Regions from separate parts of the Homo sapiens genome. Here regions 1, 2, 3, 5, 6 and 7 are each linked to region 4. Evidence: promoter capture Hi-C in 16 types of primary human blood cells and fetal thymus (Javierre and others, 2016). All regions are on one chromosome and are shown on one strand. The core of a region is centred on a gene start or on the middle of the fragment in contact, and the rest is flanking DNA. Distances in the headings are between cores, read along the strand shown. Region 1 has its middle 8.5 kb from the start of GXYLT1. Region 2 overlaps YAF2 (YY1 associated factor 2). Region 3 overlaps PPHLN1 (periphilin 1). Region 4 holds the start of TWF1 (twinfilin actin binding protein 1). Region 5 overlaps GXYLT1 (glucoside xylosyltransferase 1). Region 6 overlaps PPHLN1 (periphilin 1). Region 7 holds the start of MIR7851 (microRNA 7851).

Evidence for each region. The method cuts DNA at HindIII sites, captures the fragments that hold promoters and counts their contacts. A CHiCAGO score of 5 or more calls a contact.
Region 1: a contact is called between a fragment that was not itself captured here and the fragment with the promoter of TWF1 in region 4, in 1 of 17 cell types (M0 macrophages). The highest score is 6.0, in M0 macrophages.
Region 2: a contact is called between a fragment that was not itself captured here and the fragment with the promoter of TWF1 in region 4, in 6 of 17 cell types (non-activated CD4 T cells, total B cells, activated CD4 T cells and 3 more). The highest score is 13.7, in non-activated CD4 T cells.
Region 3: a fragment that was not itself captured here is called in contact with the fragment with the promoter of TWF1 in region 4 in 2 of 17 cell types (M1 macrophages and M0 macrophages); the score reaches 5.6 in M1 macrophages.
Region 5: a fragment that was not itself captured here is called in contact with the fragment with the promoter of TWF1 in region 4 in 2 of 17 cell types (monocytes and non-activated CD4 T cells); the score reaches 7.0 in monocytes.
Region 6: a fragment that was not itself captured here is called in contact with the fragment with the promoter of TWF1 in region 4 in 1 of 17 cell types (total B cells); the score reaches 5.9 in total B cells.
Region 7: a contact is called between a fragment that was not itself captured here and the fragment with the promoter of TWF1 in region 4, in 10 of 17 cell types (total B cells, non-activated CD4 T cells, naive B cells and 7 more). The highest score is 14.2, in total B cells.

The regions. Positions count from the first base shown.
Region 1 is chr12:42,152,000-42,154,699 of GRCh38, forward strand. No RefSeq gene overlaps it. Among named protein-coding and RNA genes, the nearest start is that of GXYLT1, 8.5 kb to the left of the region's middle. The HindIII fragment of the contact is 1,854 bases long and covers 463-2,316 here.
Region 2 is chr12:42,233,266-42,236,195 of GRCh38, forward strand. All of the region lies in intron 2 of YAF2 (YY1 associated factor 2), which reads right to left. Among named protein-coding and RNA genes, the nearest start is that of YAF2, 3.5 kb to the right of the region's middle. The HindIII fragment of the contact is 4,151 bases long and covers 1-2,930 here.
Region 3 is chr12:42,364,087-42,366,860 of GRCh38, forward strand. All of the region lies in intron 4 of PPHLN1 (periphilin 1), which reads left to right. Among named protein-coding and RNA genes, the nearest start is that of PPHLN1, 39 kb to the left of the region's middle. The HindIII fragment of the contact is 753 bases long and covers 1,137-1,889 here.
Region 4 is chr12:43,804,870-43,807,569 of GRCh38, forward strand. TWF1 (twinfilin actin binding protein 1) reads right to left here and starts at 1,448. Exons shown (of 9, transcript NM_002822.5): 1 at 1,352-1,448. The coding sequence starts at 1,376. It also overlaps a transcript of TMEM117 not described here. RefSeq lists a silencer at 1,144-1,623. The HindIII fragment of the contact is 5,668 bases long and covers 293-2,700 here.
Region 5 is chr12:42,132,699-42,135,404 of GRCh38, forward strand. All of the region lies in intron 1 of GXYLT1 (glucoside xylosyltransferase 1), which reads right to left. Among named protein-coding and RNA genes, the nearest start is that of GXYLT1, 11 kb to the right of the region's middle. The HindIII fragment of the contact is 2,261 bases long and covers 192-2,452 here.
Region 6 is chr12:42,340,668-42,343,610 of GRCh38, forward strand. All of the region lies in intron 2 of PPHLN1 (periphilin 1), which reads left to right. Among named protein-coding and RNA genes, the nearest start is that of PPHLN1, 16 kb to the left of the region's middle. The HindIII fragment of the contact is 3,964 bases long and covers 1-2,943 here.
Region 7 is chr12:42,322,864-42,325,573 of GRCh38, forward strand. It overlaps ZCRB1 (zinc finger CCHC-type and RNA binding motif containing 1), which reads right to left. Exons shown (of 8, transcript NM_033114.4): 2 at 1,156-1,241. The coding sequence starts at 1,239. It overlaps MIR7851 (microRNA 7851), which reads right to left and starts at 996; the gene lies at 837-996. The HindIII fragment of the contact is 2,399 bases long and covers 79-2,477 here.

The DNA of each region.
Region 1 (2,700 bases), core at 140-2,639, 1.7 Mb before region 4:
TTGAACCCAGGAGGTAGAGGTTGCAGTGAGCCAAGATTGCACCACTGTACTCCCGCCTGGGTGACACAGTGAGATTCTGTCTCCAAAAAAAAAAAAAAAAAAAGAATAGAAAAGAAAAGAGAATCCAGAAACAAGTCCACACAGCTACAATGAATTCATTTTTGACAAAGGTGCCAACAATATACAATGGGAAAAGACAATCTCTTCAATAAATGGTGCTGGGAAAACTGGATATCCATATGCATAAGAATGAAACTAGACCCCTATCTCTCACCGTATACAGAAATCCAATCAAACTGGATTAAAGACTTAACTCTAAGACCTCAAACTATGAAATTACTAAAAGAAAACATTGGGGAAAATCTCCAGGACCTTGGTCTTGGCAAAAATTTCTTGAGTAACACCCCAAAAGCACAGGCAACCAAAGCAAAAATGGACAAATGGAATCATATCAAGTTGAAAAGCTTCTGCACAGCAAAGGAAACAACAACATGAGGAAACCCACAGAATTGGAGAAAATATTTGCAAACTACCCCTCTGACCAGGGATTCATAACCAGAATATATAAGGAGCTCAAGCAACACTCTGTAGGAAAAAAAAATCTAATAATCCAATCAAAATATGGGCCAAATGTTTGAATAGACATTTCTCAAAAGAAGATGTACAAATGGCAAACAGGCATATGAAAAGGTGCTCAAGATCACTGATCATCAGAGAAATGCAAATCAAAACTACAATGAGATATCATCTCACCCCAGTTAAAATGACTTTTATCCAAAAAACAGGCAATAACAAATGCTGGCAAGGATGTGGAGAAAAGGGAATCCTTGTACATTGTTGGTGGGAATGTAAATTAGTACAACCACTATGGAGAACAGGTTGGAGGTTCCTCAAAAAAAAAACTAAAAATTGAGCTACCATAGTATCCAGCAATCCCATTGCTGGGTATATACCCAAAAGAAAGGAAATCAGTATATTGAAGAGATATCTGCACTCTGGTGTTTATTACAGCACTGTTTACAATAGCTAAGATTTGGGAGCAAAGTAAATGTCCATCAACAGATGACTGGATAAAGAAAATGTGGTACATACAAACAATGGAGTACTACTCACCCATAAAAAACATGAGTTCCAGTCATTTGCAACAACATGGATGGAACTGGAGATGATTATGTTAAGTGAAATAAGCCGGGGTCAGAAAGACAAAAATCCCATGTTCTCACTTATTTGTGGGATCTAAAAATTAAAACAGTTAAACTCATGGAGACAGATAGTAGAAGGATGGTTACTAGAGGCTGGGAAGGGTAGATGGTGGGGGTGGTGAGGATAGTTAATGAGTACAAAAAAATAGAATGAATAAGACCTTCTATTTGATAACATAATTGTACATTTAAAAATAACTAAAAGAGTATAATTGGATTGTCAGTAACACAAAGGATAAATGCTTGAGGAGATGGATACTCCAATCTCCATGATGTGATTATTATGCATTACATGTCTGTATCAAAACATCTCATGTACCCTGTAAATATATACACCTATGTACCCACAGAAATTAAAAATTAAAAAACAAAATGTGTTCACCGTCATTTTCTTTGTCCTTTAGAAGTCTTCTCCCAAACTAGTTTTATAACCTTCCAACTCTTCCCATTCTTGCTGACTCCAAAAGTAAACACAGGACCATTTTATTGTTGGATTATGAATTAAAAGAGGATAATGAAAATAATATCCATTTAGTTTCTGAATTTTCTTGCTAAAAGATTTATTAGAAAAATGATGATGAGGTGGTAGCTTTCATCCAAACTCCCTTCTTCCAGGTAGGTCAGCCGATTTAAATCTAGATGTAATCTAAAGACCTACTAAAACTGTATGTATTATTTCCACTCCTCAGGAATTCCAGATGGGGAGGTATGTATCTCACTGGATCCTTGCCCCAAATAGTTCCCCTAGGAGTTTATTCTTACAACTTGAAATAAGGAAGATTTTTTTTTTAAATACTATTTGGCCTGATTTACACTAGATATTTGTGGCCATTTATAAAAACAAAAGAAAAACAAGTAGATAAAAATCAAACTCTGGAAAAATACAAAAAAGATCAAGAATAAGAAATTAGATTAAAATAGAAAAAGAGCCACCACCAGCCTCCATGGCTCACACCTATAATCCCAATACTTTAGGAGGCCAACTCGAGAGGATGGCTTGAGCCCAGGAGTTCAAGACCAGCCTGGGCAATGTTGTGAAACCCAATATTTATAAAAAATACGAAAAGAAGAAGAAAAAATTATATTTCACAATTTATTATTTGTCATGATGTGAAGCTTGAATCTTTATATTAAATCTTTTCCTCTGATTAAAAAAAAGACTAAAAAGTTAGAATGCAGATAAGCAGACAACCAAGGCTACATAATTATTAAAACTGAACTCAATTTTTTTTTTTTTTTTTTTTTGAGATGGAGTCTCGCTCTGTCACCCAGGCTGGAGTGCAGGGGTGGGATCTCTGCTCACTGCCACCTCCATCTCCTGGTTTCAAGCAATTCTCCTGCCTCAGTCTCCCAAGTAGCTGGGATTACAGGTGCCTGCCACTATGACCAGCTAATTTTTTGTATTTTTAGTAGAGACGGGGTTTCACCGTATTGGCCAGGCTGGTCTCGAACGCCCGACCTCAGGTGATCTGCCCACCTCGGCCTCCCAAAGTGCTGG
Region 2 (2,930 bases), core at 333-2,832, 1.6 Mb before region 4:
TGTAACATTACCTGTTACATTTGAAAGCCTGGTATGAACCATTTAGACCACAGTTTGAAACCCAAACCAATAATTCTATCATTTTCATTTCTAAATATTTGCTATCTGAATTAAGCAATATTAAGTAACTGTCCACTACTAGATGAAGTACCAATAAGACACCAGTCTTAAATTAATCATCACACATTGATTATCACCCTCATACAGACTATCCTTAATATTTAATATTTCATTTTCTCTGATGACTCAGAATTTTGTTTTTTTGAGACAAGGTCTCACTCTGTTGCCCAGGCTGGAGTGCAGTGGTATGATCACAGCTCACTGCAACCTCGAACTCTGGGGCTCAAGGGATCCTCCCACTTCAGCCTCCTGAGTAGCTGGGACCACAGGCATGCACCACCACACCCAGCTAATTTTTTTAATTTTTAGTAGAGACGAGATCTCACTGTGTTGCCCAGGTTGGTCTCAAACTCCTGGCCTCAAGAAATCCTCCTGTCTCAGCCTCCCAAGGTGCTGGGCTTACAGGTGTGGGCCACTGGGCCAGCCAAGAATGATCCTTAATTTCCTAAAGTTTCTTGCATTTATATTTGGGACATTTCTTGCCTTATAAGAATCTTCAGATAGGCTGGGCACAGTGTCTCACTCCTGTAATCCCAGCACTTTGGGAAGCCGACGCAGACGGATCACCTGAGGTCAGGAGTTTGAGACCAGCCTGGCCAGCATAGTGAAACCCCATCTCTACTAAAAATACAAAAATTAGCCTGGTGTGGTGGCGGGCACCTGTAATCCCAGCTACCACAGAGGCTGAGGCATGAGAATTGCTTGAACCTGGGAGGTGGAGGTTGCAGTGAGCCGAGGTCACGCCACTGTACTCCAGCCTGGGCGACAGAGCAAGACTGTCTCAAATTCTGCCTCAAAAAAAAAAAGAGAAAAGAAAAGAAAAGAAAAGAAAAGAAAAGAAAAGAAAGAAAAGAAACTTCAGATATAAAGACTGTGCAGCATCTTGAAAATAATGTGTCACCGTGGCATTTTGTTTCCTTTTAAAAAATTTCCTGTCAGTTTGACATTTACTACTGTTTCTCTCACAAAAGCACAATGTAAAAAATTTTGGAGTGAGGGGCTGAAAAATGACCTGTTGGGTATAACGTTCACCATTTGGGTAATGGGTACACTGGAATCCCAATCCCACCACTCTGCAATATACCCAAGTAACAAACATGCACATGTACCCCAAAATCTAAAATAAAATTAAAACTTGAGGAACTGAAGCTACAACAAATCATTTTATTTTGAAATACATGCCATGAATGTAACTTCGTTCTCTAGAAAGACATGACCTACCATGGATATAGCCAAAGGAAATGGGCTTCTGTTGCATAAAGAATTTGAACTTAATATTATTTAAAGAAAAAAAATTATATTGCCAATAAAGACTTTAAAGGGGCCGAATGGTGGCTCATTCCTATAATCCCAGTTCTTTGGGAGGCCAAGGTAGGAGGATCACTTGAGCTCAAGAGTTTGAGACTAGCCTAGGCAACATAGAGATCCCCCATCTCTACAAAAAATAAGAAAATTAGCCACACATGGTGGTGTGCATCTGTAGTTTCAGCTACTTGGGAGGCTGAGGTGGGAGGATTCCTTGAACCTGGGAGTTCGAGGCTGCAGTGAGCCTGGATGATGCCACTGCAACCCAGCCTGGGCAACAGAATGAGATCTTATCTCAAAAAAGAAAAAAGAAAAAAAGAAGACTTCAAAGGTAGAACAAGGACTCAATCTTCTCTGCAGGTCTAAAAAGAAAAAAGTTTTTCAAATGTCTAGAATGGCTTAGACTTGGCCTAACATTTGGCAATGAGGCAGAATCAGTTCAAAGGTCAGTCTGACCCAAAGGATTCAAATCCCATCTGTGCGTCACACAAACAAATCATTAGCAAACTGCATCCTTCTGCTCTGCAGCTATCCAGTCTTGGCTTTAGTACTTGCCAACCTTACTCTGGAAATTACCCTGTTCATTAATAAGTCAATTATGGAGAATTATTTCTTCCAACTACTGAAACTTTTGCTTCTCAACACCGTTCTGCAGTCCTTTAATCTTGTTTTTTTAACATTACCAGAGAGGAAAAATATTAATATTCTGTGATGCAATCAATATCTTCTCTAGTAACAATACCCTGTTCCACACTGTTCTATACAAACACAGATTCTACCCTGAATTTCAGAAACCACTAGGAAAATAACAGATAACAGAGAAATTAGAGCTCTTAGGTTTAACTTAGAGCCAAAATCAAAAGAGAAGAGAATTCAGAGAGAGGAAGGAAGAAGCTGAGAGGGTCGTGGTGTAGAACACTTACTTTCAGGAACACAGTGTCCCTTAGATTTCTGGTGAGTTGCCCAGAGCCTCTTCAGTTTCAATCCAAATGACAATGCTTCTCTGAGTCCTCCTCAAGTAATGTTTCCACCACTAAAAATTGGATCTACAAGAGCTTAGATGTACTGGTAAAAAAAAAAAATGTCAGGGGCCCCCATGTGGGCCTCAAGCCTCTTTTAAACTAGGCCCACTTCTCTGTCCTGGGCCAACTCCCCTGTGTACTATATTCCTTCTTCTTCCAGGTGCCAGGTATTCAGCCTGTTTCTTCTCTTCTGAGCTGCCACCACCTACTCTATTTCTCAGGGTTCCTCTAACCCCAAGACTGGCTGTGGAGTAGGACACCAGCTTCCCCCCTTCCTTGCTGTCCCTGCAAATAAACATATAGGCTCTTCTAGTTTCAGTATTTTTCTAATGGCTACAAGAAAATAGAGAGGGAACAACAAAAAGCAATAATATATAGTACCAGAGATCAAGATTATAATTGTTTCCACTTTAATGTTCCTGCCTCCAAAAAACGAATTTTCTAAAAATTGCTTATTGAGCATTTTAAAAAGCACAAAGTACT
Region 3 (2,774 bases), core at 263-2,762, 1.4 Mb before region 4:
GGTGGCACGTGCCTGTAGTCCCAGCTACTCAGGAGACTGAGGCATGAGAATTGCTTGAACCTGGGAAGCGGAGGTTGCAGTGAGCCAAGATTGCACCACTGTACTCCAGCTTGGGCAACAAGAGCAAAACTCTGTCTCAAAATAAAATAATAATAGTAATAAATCTTAGGATGGAACTGATTTGAAGTATTATATAATGTTGAAAAATATGGAACAAGAGTGTCATCAAGTGGCCAATATACTTTACTTTTAAATGCTAGGGGCTGGGTGTGGTGGCTCACACCTGTAATCCCAGTACTTTGGGAGGCTGAAGTGGGAGGATAGCTTCAGCCCAGAAGTTCGAGACCAGCCTGGGCAACATAAGGCGACCCCATTTCTACAAAAAAAATTAAAAAATAAGTTGGATGTGGTGGCATGCGCTTGGTACCTTTGGAAGCTGATGTGGGAGAATTGCTTGAGCCTGGGAGGTTGAGGCTGCAGTGAGCTGTGATCACACCATTGCACTCCACCCTGGGTGACAGAGTGAGACTCTGTCTCAAAAAATTTTTAAAAAGGCCAGGCAGGTGGCTCATGCTTGTAATCTAAGCACTTTGGGAGCCCGAGGTGGGTGGATCACCTGAGGTCAGGAGTTTGAGACCAGCTTGGCCAACATGGGGAAACCCCATCTCTACTAAAAGTACAAAAATTATCTGGGTATGGTGGCATGCTCCTGTAATCCCAGCTGCTCGGAAGGCTGAGGCACGAGAATCACTTGGACCTGGGAGGCGGAGTTTGCAGGCGAAGGCGTGCTGTTGCACCCCAGCGTGGGCGACAGAGGGAGACTCCGCCTTAAAAAAACAAACAAAGTTCTAGTTGGAAGATCTCTTAGTCCATATCTTATGCCTGGAATACTTTCGTTTGTTCTACTTTTTCTAGAATGCTTTTAACTGTAAACATGTGATTTTGTGGAAACAGCCTTGAACTTGACCACCAAACTTCTAATCTGAACTCAAGCAGGCAGACAGGTGTTTGATTTTTTGATAGGATAGAAGAAGAGGTGATATGGAAAATTCCTCAGCTTAAGTCGCAGTGTCTGTGGTTTTCCGTTTCCACATTTAAAATAAAAGATATTTGAGGTTGTACTTCACTTATTCTTAAGCTTGCCTTGCTAATTACCTGGCTGCTTTCTCAAAATAATTCTTGAAATCGTAATTCTTTTTGGAAGTCCCTATTGACTAGAAAGGAAGTAGCCAATATTTTATATGAATATTTGTGTATATTTGGATGTGGGAAGGAGAGAAAAATGAGGTTCAGAATAAGAAGTAAATGCTTTCCATCTCCCCATTCTTCCCTTCCCTTGTATCCCTTTCTCCCACTTTGTCGAATTTTACTCATAACCGGTGAACATATGTCTGCTGACACTGAGGGTTCTATCACCGCTTACCTGGTTTGACTGATGTGAGGGGCGGGAATTACCTTGGGGATTTGTATTAACAGGAGAATCTGAGCTTCAAAAATCTGCTTTTCAAATAAGCATCTAAAGTAATCTGCAATCACAGATGGTTCAAGGACCACATTTTGAGAGACAGTGCCTTATGGGGTGTTAGTTCTTCCCTTCCTCCATTCTCCTGATGACTTTGCGTCTTTTATATGCCAGCCAGTATAGCTGGAGTGTTTGCGATATAGCCAAAGACACTGTCCTAACTCTCAGGCTGTGTACTCTTTGATAATAAAAAGCATCAGTTTCGTCAGATGTGTTTTTTGGAGGCCTCATAATCCTGGTTGTATTGTTATTTATATTTCTTCAAAGGCCCTTTTTGATTCATCGTATAGTTCATTGTATTGAATGCATTGTATCATATATGTTGATACCTTCATTTCCAACATAGCTAGAAACCTATAGTTTTGAAAGCTTTTGTTGTAAGTTTTCTCTCCATGGTAAATGGACCTTTGTCTTACTTGCAGTTTTTACCTGGTGATTTATGGAACAGTATTAAAAATATGTCCAGACTTTAATATACTGTTTCTCTATTTAGCATGCTTCAGGGTTATGGATAAAACAACAAAAAAATCCTTAAAATCGAGATGATACTTGCACAAAGAAAATTATACTAGTTGATACTGAGTGGTTTTTACAGCTAACCACTAGTACCGGACACTTTTTTTTTTTTTTTTTTTTTGAGACAGAGTCTCACTCTGTCGCCCAGGCTGGAGTGCAGTGGTGCGATCTCGGCTCACGGCAGCTTTCACCTCCCAGGTTCAAGTGATTCTCTTGCCTCAGCCTCCTGAGTAGTTGGGATTACAGGCGTACGCCACCATGCCTGGCTAATTTTTGTATTTTTAGTAGAGACGGGGTTTCACCATGTTGGCCAGGCTGGTCTGGAACTCCTGAACTCAGGTGATCTGCCCTCCTCGGCTCCCAAAGTGCTGGGATTACAGGTGTGAGCCTGCACCTGGCCTTTCTTGTTTTTTTTTGTTTTTGTTTTTGTTTTTGTTTTTTTGAGACAGGGTTTCCCTGTCCCTGTGTTGCCCAGGCTGGTCTCTAACTCCTAGGCTCAAGCAATTTGCCTGCCTCAGCCTCCCAAAGTGCTGGAATCACAGGCCTGAGCCACCGTGCCCCAGTGAGTTGGCATTTTAAACACAGGTTTTAGAACTTTCCTGGAGGCTGAGTGAATATTTTTAAAGATTAAGTGTCTCCTTAAGCTTTATCATGAATAATATGCAACACTTGGGTTTGGCTAGAAATCACTAGGGATTTAATGGTCCTAAAAAGGGAAATACTACTCTGGCCCATA
Region 4 (2,700 bases), core at 198-2,697:
TTACAATTTTGAAAAACTTTTCTTGCTCTTTTGAAAAATATTGAAAACCTGCTTTCATTCTCTAATTCAGTTTCAAGCTTATGACAGACACTCCTTCATCAATTCACTTTCTGTATTTTCCCGTTAAAAACAACAGTATATATCAAATATCCTAACTTGTTTAAAGAAAAAGACAATAAAATGCATTCAGTCTTAACTCTGGTTATATTTTTCTAACTTGCATTTCTCAAAAGCTAGATTAAACTCATTGAATAAATATGTATTTAATAACTAACCCTTGTGTTCCTATTAAAGCTTCAATTTCGTTCTAATTTCGTTCCTGTGTTGTCTATTAGCAGCAAGAACCACTATGTAAGTAGGTAGTGCTTGCTATAAGGCTCAAGCATGAGAGTCAATAACTACATATTTATATATCGAAATTAATGCGGATAAATAAAACAAAGTTTTCAGATTTGAGACTATTTTGCTTCTGCGTGCGTGCAGGGGGATGTGTGCGGTGGTGTCAAAAATCTTTACGAATAAAACATACAATTAAGTGTTCATCTGGGAGAAAGACTCGCTATTAACAGTAAGAGCTTGAGTTTACACTAGAACTCGTTAAGTGATCGCGAGTAACCCGGGGATATATTATTTGACTCTTGATGAGGTGAGTACCTGCAGGCTGCCCAATTTCAAACCAGGAAATAATGGAGGTCAGATATAACTGCATATTGAACTGTCTGCACGCATTACATGCAACCATACAGATCAGTTTCCCTTGGGGAGTATCTAGGAAAAAGATCAAAACACACGCTTACACTCGAGATTTCTCAGAACATAACTCTCATTTTCCTATTTGGAGAGAAAATGCGGGAGAGTTTTGGGAAGCACCCCTACTGATGTGAGAAAGATTCTGGCATGGTTCTTTTTGTAATCAAAGTCCTGTAATATTCTCCTTTGGACCATGAAAAAGAAAACTCGCCTGGTTCTCGACAGCGTACTGAAGCCCCAGTCGCCTCCACTGTCCCAGCTCTTCCCTACGTGACCAAAAGGGGGAAAGTTGGGCGACTGTCGGGGACGGTGGAAGGCACGCCCCCTTCAACCAGGCCGCCTCGAAAGCCAATTTCCTTCGCTCCCCCGAATTTCGGATCAATCTGCAACGTGACGGCAGCAGGGACCGGGCTGGAGGAGGACGCAGGCCGGCAGCGCCCGGGAAGCAGGAGCGCGGAGAGGCGCCGAGGCCCGGCTCGCCCCGCGAGACCGACTTCCGGAGCTCCCGGCCCGACTCCAGCCCTGCCGGTCCTGCAGCCCTCCCGGCTCTCCCGGCTCTCCCGGAAGCCCCTTCCCTGCGAGTCGCGCCGGGCGCTGTTACCTTGGATGCCGGTCTGGTGGGACATGGCGGCGGCCGCTAGCTCCCGGCTCCGGCGCTGAGTGCAGCCAGCGGCCCCGGCCGGCGGCCCCAGGAAGTGGCTGCTCCTCCGCCGGCCCCGGCGCGTCATCCGCCCGCGACCCGCGGCCGCCCCGCCCCGTGAGGTTGACTGAGTGCCCGAGCGTCCCCGCCGCCCCGCCGCCCTTCCTGGCCGCCGGGCTGCGGTCCAGCCCCCGGCCTCGCTATCCTAGTTCTCTGCTTGGGGTCCTGCTTCTGCTCTTGCCGCCGCCTCTCCCGCTTCTTCCGGGGGGGACATGCCGCAGAATCTAGACTGCTCAGTGCTCCGACGTCTGCTCTCTGACAACCCCGCCGACGCCGCCATTCGCTGCCTCAGCAAAGGGGTGCTCAAAAACGGAAGTGATCATTTTACCAAATAGGCATTTTCCAGCTTAAAAAAGATGTGCACATTATTTTTCTTGGTTTACTCTTCCTATAATCGATACCGTTTAGTGTAGAAAAGCCTTCTCCTTGCTCCATTGTTTTGAAAGAATTAATATAGACTGCCTCTCATCAAATTTTTCCACGATTTTAAATTAAGTTAATCTCAGACTGTTAACTTTTCTTTTCAGCTGGACACATTTAGAGACTCAGTGTATCTTTCTCTTCACTCCGGAAAGAGACAGCCACTAAGAGATTAGCTGATTTGAGTATCCCTCTGTGGTCGATTATACCATTGCAAATCCTGCTCTGCTTTAGGTTGGCAGTTTATTATTTAATCCAGTAATTATTCAAAATTCACTTGGACAGATTTGTAAGGTAGCAGCAGATATTACTTAAAAATCTTTTCCTTTCCTGCTTTTACAAACATGTAGTTCCTTCCTGAAAGGTAATGTTAGTTTTGTGGGGGGTTTGGTTTTTTTTTGGTACTGCTTCTCTACTGCTACTAGGTGGGAAGCTAGTTCTTATTTTTAGGGCCTTGAAGTGACACATACACAAAATTATAATCTGCTAATGAAGAAATAATTTATTCAGGTCAATAATATAAGTGCAAGTTAATCACTGTTCCAGTACTATACGATGTATTTTTCATGAGTGATGAACAGGCCTGCAATTGTTTTTCTTTACAAGAATCACAGCAAACAAGGTTATGTTCTATTGCCTGTTATCTGAGCTCTGTTTTTCAGACATATTCTCATATTCAGGAATAAACTAAATCTGAGTTTTATGACTTGTATGGATTTAAGAAATGTAGGGAGGAGTTTCATTCTAATCAAATTCTTCCTGACACAATGGTTCACCCTGATTTACCAGTTTTTGACTACATTGCTGAGCAGAGAGAAAATTGCAGAGTT
Region 5 (2,706 bases), core at 72-2,571, 1.7 Mb before region 4:
AAATATCCACCAGGGAGCTTCTAACTCAAAAGACCCTCTTGCAGTATTACAATTAAACTGTATTTGGGGGCAATGTTTTTGTTTTGTTTTTTTTTTTAAGTTGATGCAAGATGACGAAGCCACAGACATGAGAATTAAATTCAACAAGACCAACATATTGAACAACTCAGTAACGAGTTTAAATTTTGTGAAGCTTTGAGCCACACCAAGAGCCCTACACTTCTGCTAGTACCAAACTAGGTGCCAAGTATGGTGGATTAAGGATGATCACACATCTGACACTTCTATTAATAAGTAGGATCTGCTGCACGCAGTGGTTCATGCCTCTAATCCCAGCACTTTGGGAGGCCAAGGTAGGCGGATCACTTGAGGTCAGGAGTTTGAGAATGGCCTGGCCAACATGGTGAAGCCCCATCTCTAATAAAAAAAATCAGTCAGGTGTGGTGGCGGTTGCCTGTAATCCCAGCTACTCAGGAGGCTGAGGCAGGAGAATCGCTTGAACCCAGGAGGCGGAGGTTTCAGTGAGCCAAGATCATTCCATTGCACTCCAGCATGGGTGACAGAGAAAGACTCTGTCTCAAAAAACCAACCAACCAACCAACCAAGTAGGATCTAACTCCCCTTATCCAGAATCTAAGTGGGCTCTGTGATTGCTTTGACAAATAGAATACTGAATATAATACTGTACCAATGTCCAGGCCCTTCCCTTAAGAGCTCCACATCCTATTTCTTGGAACACTCTTTGAACCTGATCTTCACGTTGTAAGAAGCCCAAGGCACATGCAGAAGCCACTTGAGAGAATGCAGATCAACAGCCTCCACTGAGCTCCTAGTCAAAAGCCAGCATCAACTGCTAGCCATGTAAAAGAGCCACAATGCCACACCATTCTGATCTACCAACCTACTGGTTCCTCCCCAACTCACAGAAAACTAGCATCCGGTTCACAGTCCTCGTCTCAGTACCAAATCCTACTTTCCTCTAACCATTCATTTGGTAAATCAATAAATTTTCTACTGAATGACTACCTACACAGGCCAAACACTGGCAACACTATAGTGAGTAAAATGGACATGGATCATACTGTCTAGTGGGGAGTAACAGAATGTCATTTCAGATACTGCAAGGTGAGAGACCTAACCAACACCCAGGTTACACAATTCTTTAAATCCAGTAACTCTTACCTCCTTTTCCCTTCAGTGAAAAATGGCAAATGCTGGCCGGGCACAGTGGCTCACACCTGTAATCCCAGCACTTTAGGAGGCCGACGTGGGTGGATCGCTTGAGCCCAGGAGTTCAACACCAGCCTGGGCAACATGGCAAAACCCCATCTCTACAAAGAATAAAAAAAAAATTAGCCAGGCATGGTGGTGTGTGCCTGTAGTCCCAGTTACTCGGGAGGCTGAGTTAGGAGGATAGTTTGAGCCCAGGAGTTTGAGGCTACAGTGAATTGTGATCATGCCAATGCACACCAGGTCTGGGCAACAGAGTGAGACCCTCTCTGACAAAAGAAAAAAAAAGAGAGAGAGAAGAAAAAGTAAAAAAATGACAAATCCTGGACCCTGTCAGAAACTGCAATCCAATACCTCATCTCAGACTAGTCTCTGATCTAATAATTATGGTTCTTTTTTCTGAGACAGGGTCTTGCTCTGTCGCTCAGGGTGGAGTGCAGTGGTACAAACACAGCTCACTACAGCCTCAATCTCCTGGGCTCAAGCTATCGTCCTGCCTCAGTCCCCAAGTATCTAGGACTATAAGCATGTGCCACCAAGCCTAATTTTTAAAAAATTTTTTGTAGAGACAAAGTTTTGCTTTGTTGCCCAGGCTTATTATTTATATCCCATTACATGTGTGGAAATCACTCAGCCCTCCAATCACATGCTTCCTAAGTATAAGCTCCCTGCTTTACCCATTTCCCTCCCTACTCAGACTACATCATATGGTTCATCCATTCATGTTCCTATACCTGCAAACTTCCACCTTCTTCTTTCACCGTACCTTTTCAGCACAATCTTCAGTTGAAACTGAGCTGTTCATTCACATTCTCAGATGAATACTGAAGAACAGTTAATGACATGACTATGCTGATTAGTAGAAATATAAATTAATTGTCTTCCCCTTAGCTAGTCTCATACCTATTACCAACTCCATATGCTTCCCCTTGTTGCCCATCTTCTTCTCAGGAGTCCTTAAAGACCTTCTTGCATCAATTAGTCTTTCTTTCTCCTTAACTGGCAATCTCTATTTGTGTAGTAGACTGTATTACTGTTCAGTTATTCACTCCCCACATTTAACTGTAAAAGGATTATACAACCCTATTCATTACCATGGGCCTTGCCTGCCTGATAAGGGAGGCATATATCCCTGCATCATTTATTGACTTTGACCTTATTCAAGTGACTTGCTTTGGCCAAAATAATATAAAAAGACATGATACTGTGGCATCAAAGTAGAAGCTTCAAATGGGACTGTGTTGTTCAATCTGGCTTCTTGCTCATCCACTACCACAAGACCAGGCATATCCAATGTATGGATTGCTCCTTTAGCTTGGATCCCAGGATGAGAAGATATATCAAGCAAAGTCATAGCCATAGACATGTAATGTGTGCAAGAAATAAATGCTTGCTATTGTAAACTGTTTAGATGTATGGGGTTGTTACAAAGCAAAGCAGAATAATACAAGCATAATTCCCTTTTAAAGTGTGTAA
Region 6 (2,943 bases), core at 83-2,582, 1.5 Mb before region 4:
TGACTGGGAGACCGCACAATGAACGATTTTGCTGCGCTGGGAATATTCTCTTTCTTAATCTGGGTGGTACTTACACCTTGTGAAATTTATCCATTTGTGATTTGTACACTTTTTTATATGTATGGCATACCTCAAAAGTTTTGAAAAGGCAGATTTTTTTTGCAAAATATAAAACTAGTTAAGTTGATAACCCACTATCGTTAGTGCTTGGAATAGAGGAAGGTAACATTCTATTTTGTTTTATGTATTTGAATCCTGTTCTTTATCAAAAAACAATTTTACAGAATTTCTCTCCCTTTTTTTCTTTCTTTCTTTCTTTTTTTTTTTTTTTGAGATGGAGTTTTGCTCTGTCGCCCAGGTTGGAGTGCAGTGGCATGATCTCAGCTCACTGCAACCTCTGCCTCCCAGGTTCAAGCGATTCTTGTGCCTCAGCCTCCCTGAATAGCTGGGATTACAGGCGCCTACCACCACGCTTGGCTATTTTTTGTATTTTTTAGTAGAGGTGGGGTTTTGCCATGTTGACCAGGCTGGTTTCAAACTCCTGACCTCAGGTGATCCGCCTCGGCCTCCCAAAGTGCTGGGATTACAGGCGTGAGCCATCGTGCCCGGCTTCTCCGTTTTTTCTTAGTACACTCTTTGCCCCATTTATGATCAATTCTGATACAAAATAAATGTATTTGAGGAACTACTAGATGTGATATAAAGTGCAACGTGAAGTGGTGACTGTTGGGAAGGTAAGGTACCTTCTGTAGTAGTATGACCTCGTTAATAAAAGCAGCTGTTTTCTGAGTTTCTAGCCTTGATAAACCTGAAAAGACAATTGAACACTAATATACTTTGGTTTTGATGTTAAATTATACTTAATTTGAGTTTTGGCAAACTTATCCTCAATATACAGCTTAACAAATGTACCAGTCATTATTTTAGCACTTTATGGTATGCTTTTAAATTATTATTATTATTATTATTTTTTGAGGCGGAGTCTGGCTCTATCGCCCAGGCTGGAGTGCAGCGGGCGATCTCGGCTCACTGCAAGCTCCGCCTCCCGGGTTCACGCCATTCTTCTGCCTCAGCCTCCCGAGTAGCTGGGACTATAGGCACCTGCCACCACGCCCGGCTAATTTTTTGTATTTTTGGTAGAGACGGGGTTTCACCGTGTTAGCCAGGATGGTCTCGATCTCCTGACCTCGTGATCCGCCTGCCTTGGCCTCCCAAAGTGCTAGGATTATAGGTGTGAGCCATCGCGCCCAGGCGCTTTTAAATTCTTTATGTATAAATAGTAAGTCACTTTTATAAGGGGCTTTCACAGAAATTTTTATTTGGCCTTAAACTTGGGTAGGTAGGTAGCAGACTAAAGTTCAAAGAAGTGCACTACAGAGATTTTGTATGTAAATATATATGCTTCTTCTATAGGAAGGAAATCAGTCACCACAGAATATCTACACTTCTAGGTACCTGTAAAGCTCTTGTTTTTAAAGCATGCTTTCTGTCTTTAAACCTATAATTTCTATGAGCTTAGTTATCTGATTTCTTAACCTTTATCAAGTTTTGTGACAGAATGGCATTCATTCATTCATTCATTCATTCATTCGTTCATATGTACATACACACAGGGTCTTGCTATGTCATCCAGCTGAAGTGCAGTGGAGCAGCCACAGCTCACTGCAGCCTCAGACCCCTGGGCTCAAGTGATCCTCTCACCTTGGCCTCCCAGATCGTTGGGATTACAGGCATGAGGCACCATGCCCAGCCCAGAATGGCTTTTAAATACATGTAAACTTCCACTTATGGGGTTCCAGCTTCTTAGCCTGTTGGAGAACAGTTAGGTAATATGGAACATTTTAATGAAGCTGCAACATAAAATGTCGATTTTTTCATTAGCTTATTTGAAAATGGGAGAGAAGTTCCAGTTTCAGAATTTTTAAAAGTTGTAATGTTTGGAAATTAGGATCAGAGCACTAGCAGTTTATATTCTGGGCAATTACAACAGAGCTGGGGCTGAAGCAGTCCTATCTGCTTATCCCTGCTTCATTTTTCTGTTTCTTTAACAAATACATTATTTTGCATTAAAAGATTTTTCTGGTTTTGGCAGCAGCAGGGAGAACAATATTGACTAGTAGTGATGTCAAGAACAGCAACACGTTATTTTTCTGTCACATTTGTGGTAAATATGAGTTACATAATTAGTTTTTGTAATTAAGTAGTTAAATAACAATATTTACTTCCTTAGATTAATTGAATCTTTTTTATAATTCTTGTCATTGTTTATTTCTCTCTCCTAGAGAGTTTGGCCAATCAAAAATAAATCCTTTAGTAAATCCAGAACATGATTTTGTTAATATCTGAGCCTTTATAGGGAATAGATGGGATGCATATCAGTTCCACCTGTTCTCAAATGTAAATGTACTCAAACCATAATCCAGACATTTTTCTTTTGACTAACTTGACAGTCAGGTCTACTTAATTTAGTAATTCAGTTATATACATATTCCATATAACATTGTTTAAAATGTATTAATGTTGAAATATTTTTTCTTTCCATTCTTATTTCATGAAACACTTTTATTCAAAATCTTCACAGGCATATTTAAATTTCTGTTCTTTTTATGCCCCACATATTATTATTGTTTTATACAGTCATCAGTGTTCATGTAAATTTTCCCATGTAAGTACAACTTCCCAATATTTTATTATGGAATTTTTCAAACATACATCAGTCAAAAGAATTTTTATAGTGACCATCCATATACTCCCCATTTAGACTCAACTATTAACATTTTACTAAACTTGCTTTATCATGTATTTATTCATGCAATTAATCCATCTATGTTTTTGAATACATTTCAAAGTAAATTGTGGACAACAGTATCCTTCCCGTTAACTACTCAAGCATATGTATTATTAGCTAGAGTGCAATTTTTTAATAGTTTTTTTTAATGGGAA
Region 7 (2,710 bases), core at 28-2,527, 1.5 Mb before region 4:
CTATTAAGCAATCCCTGTTTGAGAAGGCAAATCCTTAGACTGCTTTATTTAAAAAACAAAACAAAACCTCATAAAATAAGCTTTTATAATGAAAAATCCATTTCTATCAGTCTTCTTCCTCTGCCCACCATTAACATGTTGGTGGAACTTTATACTTGGCTCTCTCTTCTGTTACTTTTACTTTATCCTATGCAATCTCATTTATTTCTACAGTTCCAGCTCATTACCCATATACTAAGAGTTCCTATTATATAAAAAGTCTTTTAGAATGTGTTAGTATATGCAACCAATAATAACGAATTTTTTCGTTCTATGATTAAGCTGTATAATGCTGGAATGTAAAATAACTGGATAGCAGTGTTAGCAACACTGGGTTCTGAAGGCCAGTACAGTCTTCTATATAATACTTACTAATGGCTTCTTGTTTCATGCAGAGTGAAAGCCAGAGTCCTTACCATGATGTAAATAGGTCGTATAAGGCACCTCGAGTGGGCTTACCTAAGATTACCCCTCTTTTTCTGAAATGTTTGTCCTCTAGAATTTGCACAGGTGCCTCTTACTCGTTTCAGGTCTTTATTCAAAAGTCACCTTCTCAATAATGGCATTTCTGACCGCCCTATGTAAAATTTCACTTCCATTCCCAACTTAACGTTCAATAGCCCACCTTTCCTGCGTTATTTTTTCTCCTTAGCACCTAACATCTTAGCATCTCCTTAGTATCTAACACATAATTTGACTTAAATGTTCAATAAATATAGCTTCTATTTTTTTTTCTTTTTTTTTTTTGAGACAGGGTCTCATTCTGTCACCCAGGCTGGAGTGCAGTGGTGTGACCTTGGCTCACTGTCGCCTCGACCTCCTAGGCTCAAGCAATCTTCCAACCTCAGTCTCCCAGGTAGCTTGTAGAGGCATGGTGGCACACACCTGTATTCCCAGCTACTTGGGAGGATGAGGTGGGAGGATCACCTGAGGGGGCGGGGAGGCTGCAGTGAGCCATGATAGTGCCACTGCACTACAGCCTCGTGCCTCAGTGACAGAATTAGACTGTCTCAAAAAAAGAAAAAAAAAAAAAGGAAAAAAGAATTTGCCAGGGAGAACTATTTGCTTAAGGTTATCTGTATCTCAAATAGCAGTCACTCGATAAGATTTACTTACCCGGTACAAGTCATTGTTTGTCAGGGAAAAAGGCAAGTTGGATACATACACTGTGCTCTTACTTGGAGCCAATCCACCACTCATTTCTAAAAGTGAAAACAAACTTATCAGCAATCAGTCTAAACCAGGATTCTTTTTTTGTTGTTTGAGACGGAGTTTCCCTCTTGTTGCCCAGGCTGGGGTGCAATGGCGTGATCTCGGCTCACTGCAACCTCTGCTTCCCAGGTTCAAGCAATTATCCTGCCTCAGCCTCCCGAGTAGCTGGGATTATAGGCATCCACTACCATGCCTGGCTAATTTTGTATTTTTAGTAGAGACAGTGTTTCACCATGTTGGTCAGGCTGGTCTTGAACTCCTGACCTCAAATGATCCACCTGCCTCAGCCTCCCAAAGTGCTGGGATTACAGGCATGAATCACCACACCTGGCCTAAACCAAGTATTATTAATTCCAAATAAAACCAATACATCAGACCAGTCTGGGTATTATTTGGAAAAAAACAAAAAACAAAAACCAATAAAGTATTAACAATCACCGATTTAATTATGCCAGATGTGTACACCTTCCTTACATTTTAGGAAGTTAGGAACAATGACTCCAGCAGGCTGAATTAAGGAATTCCTTTTTCCCAGTCACCACTTAAAAAAAATTCTTTTTTGGTTCTTCTTCTTTCAAGTATTCTTTATACCAACACTTTCAGTGCCAGATTGTATGGGTAGGGAGACGGGTTTTGAACAGATGAAGGAAAAACCCTGAGGCTACTCCTAACTTCCACTCAGACCATGAGCAAAAAAAATGCTCTATTGAATATGTACTGTATATGTACATTACCTGCACCTTGCTCACCCAGGTCAGAAAGAGCATGGGGACTCAGACAGAACCTTAGCCACTGATTTTTGCTAATACACAGTCATGCTATGCTTAATGAAGGAGGTATGTTCTGAGTGTTACGTGATTTCACAGTGCAGACATCACAGGGTGTACTGAGACAAACCTAGATGGTCTAGCCTATTGCTCCTAGGCTACAACCTGTACAGCATGTTAATGTAGTGAATAATGTAGACAGTTGAAACACAATGGTAAATATTTACATAGCTAAACACAGAAAACGTACACTAAAAATATGGTACAATGTATTACACTCTTAGGAGACCACTGTGGTATATGTGGTTTGTTGTTAATCAAAAAGTTGTTATGCTGTGCATGCCTGTACTATGGCTGGGTACCTTTTTTGCTTGTCTTAATATTTTTTTTCTCTGGAGTGGTGTGTTAAGAGGAAAATTTTCTTTTCCCCTTTTAGTATGATGTTAAGGAGTAAATTTAAGCTTTATGTATCGACAATATAAACTTCTTTCGAAACGCTAATTTTGCTTATTGCCAAATTATGAAATGATACATTATATAAATAGGCTTGGTGCCTCGAAGAGACAGACCTGTAGGTATGTGTGTATATGTATATAAAGTTTACAAATGTAATCAGTAATTTTCACATCTTATCTTACAAAGTCAGCAAATTACCGTGAAAATATCAGGCTCAACCAAATTCAAATTTCTGA